Regions from separate parts of the Homo sapiens genome. Here region 2 is linked to region 1. The links are contacts of gene promoters, found by promoter capture Hi-C in blood cells and fetal thymus (Javierre and others, 2016). All regions are on one chromosome and are shown on one strand. The core of a region is centred on a gene start or on the middle of the fragment in contact, and the rest is flanking DNA. Distances in the headings are between cores, read along the strand shown. Region 1 holds the start of C10orf88 (chromosome 10 open reading frame 88). Region 2 overlaps ADAM12 (ADAM metallopeptidase domain 12).

Region 1 (7,204 bases), core at 1,296-3,795:
ATTTGCCAGGCATGGTGGTGTATGCCTGTAGTCCCAGCTACTTGGGAGGCTGAGGTAGGAAGTTAGCTTGAGCTGGGAGATGACGTTGCAGTGAGCCATGATTGTCCCACTGCACTCCAGCCTGGGCAACAGAGCAAGATACTGTCTTGAAAAGAAAAAAAAAAGCAAGCAAGCAAGTTGGACTAATTGTATTACTAATCCAAAAGAAAACAAGCATACACAGAGTACAAAAACAACTTAGTTGTCAAATTAGTTTACAACTGACAACTTACCTTTATTTTACAAGCATGTGTGGAGGACTCCAATTTTAGATTTTTTTTATACAAAATGATCTTTTCATGTTCACTAAAAATAAAAAAGAATTAATTTTTTTTACTTACATATATTGTCACTTTTAATAGTTACACTTAAAAATAAATGTTTCCAGAACAATATTGAAATCCTAAGATTCAGTTTTCCTGGTGAGGCATGAAGAGTTGGGCTCCATAACTGAAGCACACTGCCTATGATTACATCTACCACTTACTAGGCTCAATGAGAAAATTACATTATATAACATATGTACAACCATGTAGCCAGACTGTATTTTAAAGCTCAATAAACACAGCAATTGTTTCCAACATGCAGGATATAAAACAGTTCATATTTTGTGTTAAAGACAGATTGGAGAAAAATCTTCGTAAGAAAAAAAATCACAAGTTGCGTTACAGGTTAATAAATAGGTTTATGTAGCACAGTCTTAGATCCCTCCACCATTTCTAATAGGCTTCCAAGAAGAAAATGTATTCAAAGTTCCAGACTGACTACCAAATTAACTTTCGGAAGACAGACTGCTGTGAGTTTAAGGAAAGAGACACACTTCTCAAAATTTCATTCTAATAAAACTCTTCCACTAACTAGCTATGACCTCCTACCAATTCACCTTGATTGTTAGTTCTAAATTTCAACATTTATAAAAATAACTAGGCTGATCTACACTGTCTTTTAAGATCTCTAAAGTTGTAAACTTCTATGCCTACTGGCACATTTTTATCTTCTCTCCCATAACATATGGTATCAATATCAGAGAATCAATAATTATTGCAAAAAGTGAGAAAAATCAAAACACTACTTCAGAAGAACACTTTCCCGTGTACAAGTCACACACCTGTCATCCAGGACAGTACAAACATTCTTGCCCCTACTGGTTCCACAGTACTCCTCTCCTAAGTACACTTCCATATTTCTTGCTGAACTTAAAATGCCAATAGAAGCGATTTCTTCACCTCCATCAGGGCCACACCTCAGGTAAAGGAAGCAGGGGTTTTCATCTTTGTTGTTGTGGTTTCTCTTCAAAATCACCAGATCCTGACTGAGAAGAAAATTGGTGAAAACATCACACAGTATAGTTCTCTGAACATGACTCTTCTTTTTTGAGACGGAGTCTGGCTCTGTCGCCCAGGCTGGAATGCAGTGGCTCCATCTCGGCTCACTGCACGCTCCGCCTTCCGGGTTCACGCCATTCTCCTGCCTCAGCCTCCCAAGCAGCTGGGACTACAGGCACCCGCCACCGCGCCCGGCTAATTTTTTGTATTTTTCGTAGAGACGGGGTTTCGCCGTGTTAGCCAGGATGGTCTTGATCTCCTGACGTCGTGATCCGCCCGCCTCGGCCTCCCAAAGTGCTGGGATTACAGGTGTGAGCCACCGTGCCCGGCCGGGGCTTCTTTCTTCTAACTCACTTCCACTTGCCCTTGAGGTCCAAGCACCTTCCCAAGCATCCAAGAAGCGCTCAACACAGAATTCATACGGAAATGAAGGTGTCACACATCAGGGCTTTCCCAAACTCTATTTTTTCCTCAATCAACATTCTACTCAATCCCCTGCAATTGACTCTCGGATAATTACATAAATCACTGGGCACCTACTGGGTGCAGGGCACAATGAAAGACAAAAGTGTATCTTTTTCGAAATTAAGTCGACAGCGATCATCTATAGCTGGACTTTTTACACAGCCTGTTTTGGTGGACAGGAGGTGTCTTGTTTGAGGGTAGAGGGGCGGACTGACTTTGACAGCAGCCCTGAGGGGCTATCACGCCTGATGGGGACGTTATATGAAATTCCGAGTCCGGGTCACCTTCCCCCTCTCACGCCCAGGAGCCTCGGCCCCTTCCCGGCCGGACCCACCCCCCTCCGCCCACCCCGGACGACCTCGCAGCTCCCCTCCCCAACTAGAGACCTGGTACCAACTGCTCTCCCGGATCCCGGGCTCAGACCCTCTCGCCTCCCCTCACAGCTCCCCTAGAAGCGCGGCAGTTGCCGAGCATAGCGACCCCGTCCCCGTCGGCCCGGCGCACCCTGGAGCAGGCGGTGCCAGCAGCTCCTCCCAGTCGAAGTCACCGGGGCCGAGACCGGCCCGGGTGAGGAGGAGGCTGTGGGTCAGGGCCCCGCCTGCAACATCCCAAGAAGAGGCCAGCGTGGGGCGGCGGGTGAGGCCCCCGTCCTCGGTCCGCGTCTCCATTCCGCCGCCTTCAGTCAGGCCAGCCCAGCCCCGGAACCTCTCTTCCAGTGCTTGAATTTCCGCCGGTACAGCGTGGAAATGGGCAGGCAAAGCGACTTCCGGCTCACTCCGCTTCAAGTACCCGCCGCTTCTTGCTTTGGTGGGGAGAGCAGGCACCAGAGACACGCATGCGCATGTGCCAGCTGGCCTCAGGCGCGGCGTTCAAAGTGTGCGGGGAGGAGGTCGAGAGCGGAGCATGCGCACTGGCAGACCCTTGCTCTTTCGCTGGAGACTATGCGCAGGCGCGGTGCACTGCGCGCCGGCACGAGGGTGTTTTCGACGTTGGCTGTGGGGAAACAGCAAGCGGCGTGGACGACCGTTGCTGAGCTGGTGTGGAACGTCTGTGATCAGGTAGGTGTAGTCTCGTCGCTCTACGCTGCGTGCAAGACCGACTCCTGACCTCGTTCTTTCCCAAGGGGACGCCAGGGCCTTTTCTGCTTCCATTCCGTCGGATCTGCAGCATTTGTGGCAGCTAGCGCGGCGGACGCGCTGCCGATTCGGGTTATTTTTACTTCGAATTCTCCTAGCCTCCCTCACACATATTCTCGCTTTAGAGGGGGGCTGAAGCGGATGATGGGGTTTTGGGGTTGAAGGGCATCTGTGATGGGCATTGAGCCACGCTGGCCTTCGCCGGGTGCTGTCTCAGCTGACGCCCCCTGACCCCATGTGCAACCCTCAGGCCGCAGGAACCCGGGCATCCAGGGCTGGACGCTCTAGGTGACAGAAATTTGAAATGCAAGAAAGACCCAGACACCGAAGGCAGGGGCTGCCCCATGAGATCGCTCCTCATGGCACTGGAAACAGCGAGTGGAAAGGGGGGGTCTCAGAACTCTGTTGAAGTAGAATATGAACTCAGTCTTGAAGGAACTTAAGGCTACGGATGCAGAACAGTGGGAGCAGATGGAACTTTCTAGATGCCCCACGGGATGGGACTGTATATAGTGTGCCCCCTCATCCTCCTCCTGTAGAGGCTTGTGCAGATTATTTTTCTGTCTTTTGAAAAAAGCAAACTCTGAAATTCCACTTGTCTATAATCTAGAGTTCCAAAGTTGTGTTTAAGGTGGTATCCTCTCTAGGAAATAACGTTTTTGCTCACCCATACTCTAATTTTCTTTCAGAGCTGTCTATTCTGGGTTCATGACTCAGTGCGCATTACTTTAATCTTTTTGCTTATGTTTTCGTTTGAGTTTATGTACTAGGACTTGTGCCCTCTAGCTAAAAATGAGAATAAACTTTGCATTCTGTTTACCTGTGTCAAAGCAAGAAAAATGATGACCAAATGTATTTTTCTATAAGTAATCACCAGAATGTACGTATGGTAGGTGAATTCACCAAGATTGAAAGAGAGAAATGTCACCAAAGGTCTATCATAGCAGAATTGTAAAGTCCTCGTTTGCAAAGATTTTTTTAATATTTCAGACTCATTCTAAGTTGTCCTTGTCATTATTTTTGTCCTGTATGTCCTGCTTCCTGTGGTTGTAAGTTAACTTTGATCCACATTAATACATGTGGACAATCCGAAGGAAAATAGGCTCTTCAGAAACTAATCTGCAATTTCATGAGCAATAGCAATATTATAAACTGGATTTTGACTTCCTTAAATAAAGCTGAATGTCCAGGAATCAGAAAACAAAAGATTCCTATGGTCTATCCTTTCCTTTATTTCCATACAGCCAATAAACCACCAAGTCTTCATTTTCTTAAAGAAAAATTTTCCTATCTCTGCTTCTTCTGTTTCCAAGCACTAGCTTTATCTGAACAATTCCAGGAGTTTGTCAGTAGCTTTCATTTTGATTCCTTCCATTTCAGTCTTTGCACTGCCCTCTTCTCCTTCTGGTGATCAATGTTCCTGACTGAATCAACACCTTCACTCCTTAGCATAGCATGCAGAGTCCTTTGTACTTTGAACCCTGCCTACCTTCCAGTTTCCTCTACCTAGAATGCCATTTTTTTCAATAGTAGGAAAAATCCTATTTATCATGCGAAACCAAGCTTACTTCATCCTGCTACAGAATTAAACAAATTCCTCTGTGCTACAATTACCACTTTTTTAGGTAGTATAATTCTCCTTTGATGTCAGACTTTGCCTGTTTATATATCTGTGTTCCCTACTATCTGCATGCTTGCTGAGATAGACATTATGTTGAGTACAGGTTTGTTGTATGGAATTGATAGGTTGGTGACAGCTTTTATCACATAAACTAAGAGCAGCAGAAAAAGGAAAATTAGTACATTCAATCTTAAGCTTTTTTCCAAAGCCAGGATGGTTATGGTTCAAAGCTGACTTCAATCTTAATATGATACATTATTCTTGTCATGAATTACAAGTGAGTTTTTTGCTTTACTTTTCTCTTTGAAGTAAATCAGAAAATATAGTTGGTGATATGGTTGGCTGTGTCCCCACCCAAATGTCATCTTGAATTGTGGCTCCCATAATTCCCACTTGTTGTGGGAGGGACCCCGTGGGAGATAACTGAATGGTGGGGGCAGTTTCCCCCATACTGTTCTCGTGGTAGTGAATAAGTCTTGGGAGATCTGATGGTTTTATAAGGGGAAGCGCCTTTCGCTTCGCTCTCATTCTCTCTTTCCTCTGCCTTGCTCTTCTGCCATGATTGTGAGGCCTCCCCAACCAACCACATGGAACTGTGAGTCCATTAAACCTTGTCTTTATAAATTACCCAGTATCAGGTATGTCTTTATCAGCAGCGTGAAGATGGCTAATACAGTTGGAAATTTCCCACCAGTAATGATATGCAAGAACTCAATATTTAGGAGCATATTTCAAATCTGTTTTCAGAATATGAGCCAACGCACATTTGAAAGGTACATTTTAGAAAAAAGTAACTTAGGATACTAATTTTCTTGAGCACATTCATTTAGTAATGCCACAGTTTAGATGTTTTGACTATCTTAAGTAGATTGAGTTCTTACTATATATGCCCTGCCTTTTACACAGGAGTATACTTCCCAGCAAGGTGGTTATAGGAACTTAACTTCCTTCTCAGGACCACTTGAGTTGTACCTTCTCTCCTCCTTTCCCTCTCTTCTGGTCCTTGCAGGTCCCACAGTTGCCAGGAATTCCTTCTCACCCTGCCTCAATACAGGGCCTGCAATTTTAACAGAGTGGAAAAGAACAACCTTCCTATCTTTTTCTCCCAACTTCATTTATAGCTGCTTTCTACCTCATTTTAACTAGAACCTCTGTTCTAGTTAGAAACATTGTTAGACTGTATATCATTTTCAATACAACCTTTCTGAGGAAATGTAGAAATGCTGCAGAAGCTCTCGAACTAGAGCTGAATCTGTGCCCGCATCCATGATTATCACCTGTATGACGCTTTCTTATCCTAAAACTCTTATGCAATAGTCGATGGCCATACCACCCTGAACATGCCCAATCTTGTCTAAAACTGTTATGCAATAAAGGGTTAACTCAGGAAGTCTGGGAGGTTCAAACCCTGCAGCTTCCAAAGAAGTTGGCTCTTGACCAGCTCTGGGAAGATGACCGCTAACCTATTGGAATGTCCTGCCTGATAAGAGTGTCTTTGTATACCTAGCTAGCTTATATCAACAGTGTGATTTATATAGTAAGGCCACACTTGAGACACACTCTGTCAGTTTGATCTCTGGAGCTCAATTTTAAATAATTATTTAAAATTAAATAAATAATACTCTATACCTATCTAGATACAAAGAAAGGTTTTTCAGGGTGAGGTAGGTGGGAATCACATAACCATATCTTGCTGCTAACTGTGGGCTTTATAACAGAGTTCCTTAACACTTCGGTTTCAGAACCCTTTTACACCTTTATAGCTTTCTAATTAAAAAATCAACAACATTGTTCTTGAGTCTGTAGTAACGTACACTAATAGGAATGAGTACTTAAAGAATGGATTGAAAAGATAACCACTGGGTCCCTCCCACAACAAGTGGGAATTATGGGAGCTACAATTCAAGATGACATTTGGGTGGGGACATAGCCAAACCATATCACCAACTATATTTTATGGTTTATTTAAAAGGGAAAAAGGAAAAATCCACTCCAGCTTCAGGACACCTGGCTTAAAATAAACTTTCTTAATGGACCCATTTCGTAAAAATGGTTTTATCCTGTTTCCTTGGGAACTTGGCAATAACTTAGAGGGTTTTAGAGTCTTAAAGGAAGGTCTGGGTGAATAAACTCTTTTTTTATGTTAACAAAGGAAAATAGCATCCAAGCTAAATCAGCTGTAGGATTTGTTATGTTTCGTTATGCATTCATGGCACTTGCACCTTCAGAAGAAGTAACTCATCAAAAATTCTGCATAATATGCTGTCAACTCATTTGTAATATTGCACGTTTCCTACAGAAATAATCCATCTTTGTGCAGAATGATAGAATTTTGAGGTAAGTTTATTAACATCCCTTCAGGAATATGTTGTACTGTTGGGTTGCAGGTTAAGGGGAAGCCACAGAATCCTTTTTACCAGTTTTACTTTTGATAGCCGTGCTTTTGTATACAACATACTATGATGTAGTGTAAATACACCTGACAGCAATAACTTAAGCATACCCTTAGAATGACCCTCTATGGCAGATGTACCTGAATGTGTGTTCTGAGCTAGGGAATCCAGGGCATGGCCATCTTGGGGATTCGTTTCTTATCTATGATAAACATCTGATGCCCC
Region 2 (7,204 bases), core at 1,709-4,208, 3.1 Mb after region 1:
CCAAGTCCCAGGTTTATGATCCAGAAAATCTGACCTTTGCTAAAAAAATGAAGTGAGAAGCAGTTTGCTGTACATTTTCTGAGACACCATTTCTTTTTTTTTTTTTTTTTTTTTTTTTGAGATGGAGTCTTGCTCTCTCGCCCAGGCTGGAGTGCAGTGGAGTGATCGCAACTCACTGCAAGCTCCGCCTCCCGGGTTCACGCCATTCTCATGCCTCAGCCTCCCGAGTAGATGGGACTACAGGCACCCACCACCGCGCCCGGCTGATATTTTGTATTTTTAGTAGAGACGGGGTTTCACCGTGGTCTCGATCTCCTGACCTCGTGATCCGCCCGCCTCAGCCTCCCAAAGTGCTGGGATTACAGGCTTGAGCCACCGCACCCAGCCTCTGAGCCACCATTTCTAGAACAGATGACAAGCTAAACCCAGGGTACCTTAGTTTTTCAATGGTGGTCTTCTTATTTGTAAACAGCAGTCGTATCAAGGTCTTCCTTTTGAGATAAACCACAAATCCGGCAGCAAGAAGACACAGGATGGTCACCAGAATTCCTATGGTTAAACCTTGGTTATCTGAAACAAAACACATGGGGCTCACAGAAGGAGGCAGTTACAATGAAATATGGGAGGTATCAAGTTGTGACGTTTATGGCAAAGTGAACTCTGAAGCAACAGAAATGAAGAGAGTACACCCGTGAGTGATGTACTAATAAACTGTCTTACTTCAGATGCCATGTTTGAGGTTCAATCTATGTTACCATCATTCATTTCTGACAACTCTAGAACTTGCTAAACAGGAATATATAGTCGGGTAGGTGGGGTGATGGTCTGGACCACGCAGGTTCCCTGAGGCGTGACAACGGCACAGTGGACCATGGTAGCCACAGAAGGTAGCAGGGAGCCATCACTGAAGCCTCACTGGAATCACAGCCATCCCCAGGCTCAAATGTTTCCAGTCCCCAGCACAGATTTGCCATTCCAAAGTGCTTTTCTTTACTCATTCTGTAGTTGGGTTCTGCTTTATCTCTTTTCGTGTTTTTAAAAAATGAATTGCTTTCTTGCTGGACATCTCAAAGTAGATAGTGAAAAAAGAGAAAGAAAACTCATTTAAATGAAACACCCATGGGTTTTGCTTTGTTATGTTGGGGACTTAAAAACACAGCCTTTGTGGGGGAAACCCTTTTCCTGGGAGGAAGCTATTTTCTCTATGAAAACATCTTCTTTTCTATGACCTGCTGCCATTTTGTTTAATACAGTTAAGAGCCTCCTCAAGGGTAGGGAAAGGAAGGAAAAAAATCAAACCATCAGGTTGGTTTCTTACAGTAGCTATGGTCAGCGGCTGTCTGGGAAGGACTCTAAATGCTCAGACTTAGAGGAGGTCTACCTGTGATTTCAACTGGACAGTGAATTTTTAGAGGACAGGGATCTTGATTCATTTGTCTTCCCATCAGCAAGGATCAGGGTGTACTTCACATCAGGTAAGTGTGCAACAGTCCTTTCCGGCTGCTGGTGATCGCCGTGATGCAGTTACCTGGGCTCTCCTCGGCCCTGCCTCCCACCTGGACCCTCAGCTGGCTGTGGATCACTGCAGCAGCAGCTCCTACTCCAGGGAAAGAATGTCTTTCACACCTTCTTGGTTTCTGGACCCCATCCCCCACTAACAAGGCCTATCAGGGATGTGTCTTAGCCTAAGCAAGACAGCCAACAGATGACAGTCTTGACTTACTTGTTGGTGTTACTGGAAAAGCATTGCTTCTGGTTTCCTGGGCAAAATGTCACTCTTTTCAGACCCTTAGTAGTGATCACAGGGGGCTCTAGCTAGAGTTCTGGTGTCTCATAACAAAGTTAATTAAAGTTAATTTAAAAAGTGAACAGCAAAAATCTTGAACTATAATTTCTAGTTCCATAAAGTGAATCCATAAATCTTCAATACATCAATCTATGAAACTGAACATTTACAGGGCCCCCACACTGAACCTGCTGAACTCCCCAGGGTTGCTCAAGCCAGAGGCCCGGGCAGTGACTGACTCCATTTCCCTCTTCCCCAGGACCAGCACGAGCACCGTGTCCTGTGTCCCCTCCTGTTGGCCCAGTCCGCACTCTAGAATCTGAGCCCAGGCCAGTCCACACTCCTCTAGATCTTCGCACAGCCAGCTATCTCGGCTTCAGAATGCATGTTTCCCTCGCCCCCTTCAGACCTCAACAGATGCAGGGTCCCCAGGAGCCTTCCTGACAACCCCCTGCCGCTCTGTGGGGGTTGCTCCCCTCCCATGATGCCCTCTCTCCCTGCAGTCGTACCCCTCACTTATGCCATGTCATTCTTGCTTAATGTCTCTCCAGGACCCAGGAGAGTGGCTGGTGTGTGGCAGACACACAAGTACTTGTTTAATGAGCCCCTGAGCCATGGCCAGGCCAGGGAGCAGTGAGCCATGCTTGCTCATGGCCTGCCTTGATTTTATATATGTATGAACAGGGTGGAGGCAGCGGTATTTCAAATGCACTCTATTTTATGCAGTAATGGCCACGGGGGATGGAGTTAGGCTCTTACATTGTTTTCACTTTTTAACATTCTTACTTGTTAAATGAAGGGTTGGTGACTCTGTGGGTTCCCTGGCTTTCTGCAAACCCTCAAACCTGAGTACTGCTGGTCACGCATGTCCACAGCAAAGAGCCAGAGTTCACCGCCCTTTCTCCTACCTTCTTCTCCAGTTTGTTTCATTGCCATTCAGTTTGCTTGGATGGAGATGGAATGGGTGGCAGGGTCTCTGATAAATTAAAAACTAAAACCCTGCTATTTTCATATAATAAATGCTAAAAGCCATATCAGAGCATTAAGTTGCAGCCAGAGACCAGTCATCAGGGCTGCCAAGGCTGAGGTGTCACTGGGGAAAGGGGACACTGGGCCCAACCCTTGCTTCTCCCCCACTGCTGTGGAGGCTCAGTGAAAGGCCAGACTTTTGAGTCCTCTTCCTCCTTGCTGCAGGGCTGGGGCCTGCCAGAGTGGTAACCTGCTACTCTCTCAGGAGCAGCACTGAAGCATGTCCATGTTTTAGCAGAAGCTCAACCAGGAAGTCGCTGCCCTTCCTTGCACTGTTTCTGCAGACGTGCCTGGTAGGCTGGACTTCCCCTCCTGAGCCCCGAGAACTGTGTTGTGTCTGTTGTCATGGAAACGATGGCAAAGCCACAGAGTCAATGCTGCCAGTCACAGGAGGCCTTGGGGACGCGTGACCTCCTCTGCAGCAGCACTGGTCACGGTCTCCATGTCATGGGAGGGCTCAGATGAGTGTCAGTGAGGCAGTAGACGCATGCTCCTGCGATCCCACGGGCTCCTGGCCCTGGCCGCGCTCCCTGTTGGACTCTGCAGCTTCCTGCCTTGCTTCTTTCCCTCGAAAAGAGGCATCATTTAGACTTGCCCCTGAATTGCCCAATAAGAACTCAGAGAAAACAGCACCGCACCAGTAAACCATTTCTAAAGGTCATCCGAGGAGAAATGGCCACGAGTTCAAGCACAGCTGCTACTAAGAGCTTCTTGGGGGACAGGCAGACCTGTGTGTGTGTAAATCTTAGCGAGATCACATTAGGCAAATTACTTAACTTCCCTGAGCCTCAGGTCCTAGGTATGTGAGAAAAGAATCATACCACCTTCTTCAGAGTTGTATAAGGAGGGGATGACATCATGGGCATAAAATGCACCACACAGCACCTGCACACATCATTCCATATGCAAAAGCTGTTGCAATGACTCCCACTGCTGCCGTGACTGTCACCTTTACTAAGAGGTGGGTGTCTTTCCAGTAAGATTTTTAAAAGGCATTAAACTTCACACCTTGTCACCCTACCACACAGATGTCGGCCTTTACAAAGTACTTTGATACAGTGATGACATTCATACCCATTCAGCAGTTCACTATAGAAATGACCTTAGTTAAGAAAAGTGTCGCAGGCTAAGGAACTGGCAAACTCAGCCACTCAGTCAAAGCAGAGAGCAAGGAGCCTCAGAGAAGATCGGGCAGGGATGAGAGGGGCATCTGGAAACTGCGGGAGACCCTAGGCTGTGTAGACCCATGTGGGGTCCCCACTGGGTTTCTTGTTGGCTCTACCTGCACCCATGCTGACAGCTGGCGAGCCCACCCGCCCCCAGGTGCTCAGCCTCCTCCCACCGGGATGCAGGGGCTTCACTGACCTGCTTGCCGGATGGGGCCGCTGTCTGTGCTTCCTCCAAAGCCAAACTTGTCACAGAAGGGAGGTGCCCAGTGGGCCTCGCAGTGGCAGTTCTTCCTGTTGTTGCACACCTTTCAGGGCAGAGGGGAGGGACGTGGGGTTAGGGCATATGCTCTGTGCATCACCACAGCAGAAGCAAGGGGGGCCATGGTCAGAGCCCCCCCCCAACACTGACACAGCCAGACTCAGCACACGCCATGGTGCGAATAAGCCCAAAGCCGGCACTACACACCACACAGGGGCGACCAAACCTGAGGCTGTGAAGATGCATCATCTGCCTATTAGTGGCTGTAAAGAGAGTGATGAAGATTATTTGGGTTCATCAGCTTGCCTCCCCCACCCACCTCACTTCCTTCTCCATCTCCCCATCTTCCTTTTTCAATCTGGAAAACTGTCTGACCATGAGGAGAAGCCCCCTCAGCAGTGAGGAGGGACCGTGCTTTGGGGCTACAGACCCAGAGCCCTGGGGCACCGCGGGACCTGACAGATGCTTGGCGCATCCCTGTCTCCTTCAGACAGAAGGCTCAGAGAGGCTGGTGACTGCCGGGTCCCACGCCAGGCTGGGGTCCGAGGCAGGCCCCCCGTTTCCTGAGCAAAGGAATCCTGTTTCCTGCAATCCTAGCAGGGTGCATGGGATTTCCACTAATACTTCCTGAAGCCTGTCCCCGTGTGTCCTTCCTGCAACGCCTGCCTCCTTCTTGCAGAGGTTCCCAGTGGCTGTTCCCTGGCTCCCAGTCACGCACCAGGGTGCGAATCCAACAGTGGATTCTTTTCATTGTGAAATAAGAGAATGGTTCTGGCACGGCGGGAAAGGGAGACCAAGAAAGCCCGAGGAGGCTGTGCTTCACCCTTGTTGGGCCCAGCTCATAGACCAGAGCATTCCATGCAGGGGCCAGCAGCCCCTGCCCACCTGGTTACCAAGGGCTACTGATGGCGGCCACTCCCAAGCCTGTCCATGCTGGTTGGACTCGCTATTATGCCAGATGTAACTAACTGAAAGTACATGATCCAATGGAAGATGACCATGAAGATGATATATATTTAATATATTTTTTTCTATGAAAATTAGGTTGTCAAGTCCAGGCACGGTGGCTCATGCCTGTAATCCCAGCAAGTGGGAGGCCAAGGTGGGCAGATCACTTGAGGCCAGGAGTTCAAGACCAGCCTAGCCAACGTGGTGAAACCCTGTCTTTATAAAGATAAAAAAAAAAAAAGTTAAAAAAAATTAGGTTGAATCCTTTGGGAACACTGGATTAAAAAAGAGAAATCACTAAAAGAATTTCTGAAAAATTAGGAATGAGTGGGACTACTGCACAATGATTGGGAAGAGCTGCAGAGGACAAGGAGGAGGCTGTTCTTGGATGCTGTTGAGTGTCTAAGGTTCCCTTCCACAAAAAGAAACGAACTAGAAGTTGTTGATGATGCATTTTTGGGTGGTTTATATCAGGAAGTCGATGCACAATGACATTCAGTAAATCAATCCTAAAGGCCTCAGCCCGCCATCAAAATATGGCTGCCAGATATACAGTTTCATATTTTAAGGCAAAATAAAATGCGTAGAGTATATGTCTCCCATGTAATGCTTTCCTGCTTCAACCGACTTGTTTTGATGAATCAACCACCTACCCTCATTGCTTCAGATAAGAAGGCCGACTGTCAAGATAGGCTTTAATAAGTTAGAAAGTAGACTGCTATAAAGCAGAAATTGAGTAGAACTTGTCAGCAAGTGGCAGAGCCTACGTCAAATGTAAGTGTCTTGCCTGTCCCCTCAAAGATGCTGCTGTGGACGTACTAGCCCCAGATTCATGCCTGCCCCTCATGGCTTCTCTCTGCAACTTGTGGTCATGCGCCTTGTTTTAAAACCCACAGGAAGGTGCTGCCGGGAGCCTGCCCTTGTTAGGGTGGGACTGTGGCCAAGCTACCCTTCAGCAAGGCTGGGTAGGCTCCACCTACCCAGCAAATGCGGGCCTCTCCGCTCCCATGTGTGGATAAGGCCAAGGGGTATTGGAAAGGGAGTGGTCCAGGGTCCTCAACCAGCTTGCAGCTTGCCGGCCATATTACCTTGGGCACACCATCCCCACAGCTCAGGGCCTGGCTTCTTCAGTAAAATAATAGGACTGGACTTGATCATCTCTTAACAGCCATCAGAAAATAATCTATGATCCAATGAAGACATAAGAAGATTCCATTGTATATTGGGAGTTAGCTAACCTTACCGTCAACACCCCCATCTGAGGTGACACTGTGATCCTTTATGGTTCCAGCATGATGGTAATTTACAACCCCCTCCCCCCATGCACCCGGTAATTCTGTGTAAGAATCATTGGCAAGTGTCTACAAGTTTTAAAATAAAGAATTTGGAGCAGGATTTCTGTAGGAAAGGTTTCAGGAAAACAAATGAACCTCTGGTGTGGTTAATCAAGACTAATATGATTCCATTGGAAATAAGCCCATCAAGAAAAATAAATTATGTTTTCAGCAATTAGAGTCCTCTTCTACCCTAAAGGTTCTCTGAACTAAAATAACAGCCTTCTTTAGTTGAAACCCATTGTGTGTGATTTCAAGAACATGTGTTTAATATGATCTGTTGTCCTTGTTTTAATTCCTTTTGGAAATATTTCAGTTCAGACACTGGTTCTGAATGTTGGTAGTAAGAGGAACAGCACAGTTTGAAATGTTATTTTGAAACTCTTCATGAAGGAAGGTTGCTTTTCAAATTACTTTGAACAACAAAAGTCTTTTTTAAAATCATAGAATGTTAATTTAAAAGGTAATTACAGCTCAGTCTGATTTTCTTTGTTAAATAAAAGTCACATGAAAAGGTCAAAAGAAATGAATACCTTTAGAAGAAAATATTTCAAACACAATAACTGCTCTATTTAAAAAATGCTATGGATTGCAAAACCTTTTACAAATGAATGTATTATTACTTAACTTGTTATGGGCTGGCTGTAAAAGGGCAGCTCAGCCTACTCACCCCTCTGCC

What was found. The method cuts DNA at HindIII sites, captures the fragments that hold promoters and counts their contacts. A CHiCAGO score of 5 or more calls a contact.
Region 2: a contact is called between a fragment that was not itself captured here and the fragment with the promoter of C10orf88 in region 1, in 1 of 17 cell types (monocytes). The highest score is 5.3, in monocytes.

What each region holds. Positions count from the first base shown.
Region 1 is chr10:122,951,682-122,958,885 of GRCh38, forward strand. It overlaps C10orf88 (chromosome 10 open reading frame 88), which reads right to left and starts at 2,546. Exons shown (of 6, transcript NM_024942.4): 1 at 2,334-2,546; 2 at 1,148-1,351; 3 at 273-345. The coding sequence starts at 2,497. LOC124902519 (a long non-coding RNA gene) reads left to right here and starts at 2,761. Exons shown (of 2, transcript XR_007062325.1): 1 at 2,761-2,887. RefSeq lists a silencer at 2,262-2,341. The HindIII fragment of the contact is 5,860 bases long and covers 1-4,526 here.
Region 2 is chr10:126,038,860-126,046,063 of GRCh38, forward strand. It overlaps ADAM12 (ADAM metallopeptidase domain 12), which reads right to left. Exons shown (of 23, transcript NM_001288973.2): 17 at 7,196-7,204; 18 at 4,181-4,289; 19 at 435-570. Among named protein-coding and RNA genes, the nearest start is that of FANK1-AS1, 69 kb to the left of the region's middle. RefSeq lists an enhancer at 4,055-4,712. The HindIII fragment of the contact is 8,824 bases long and covers 1-7,204 here.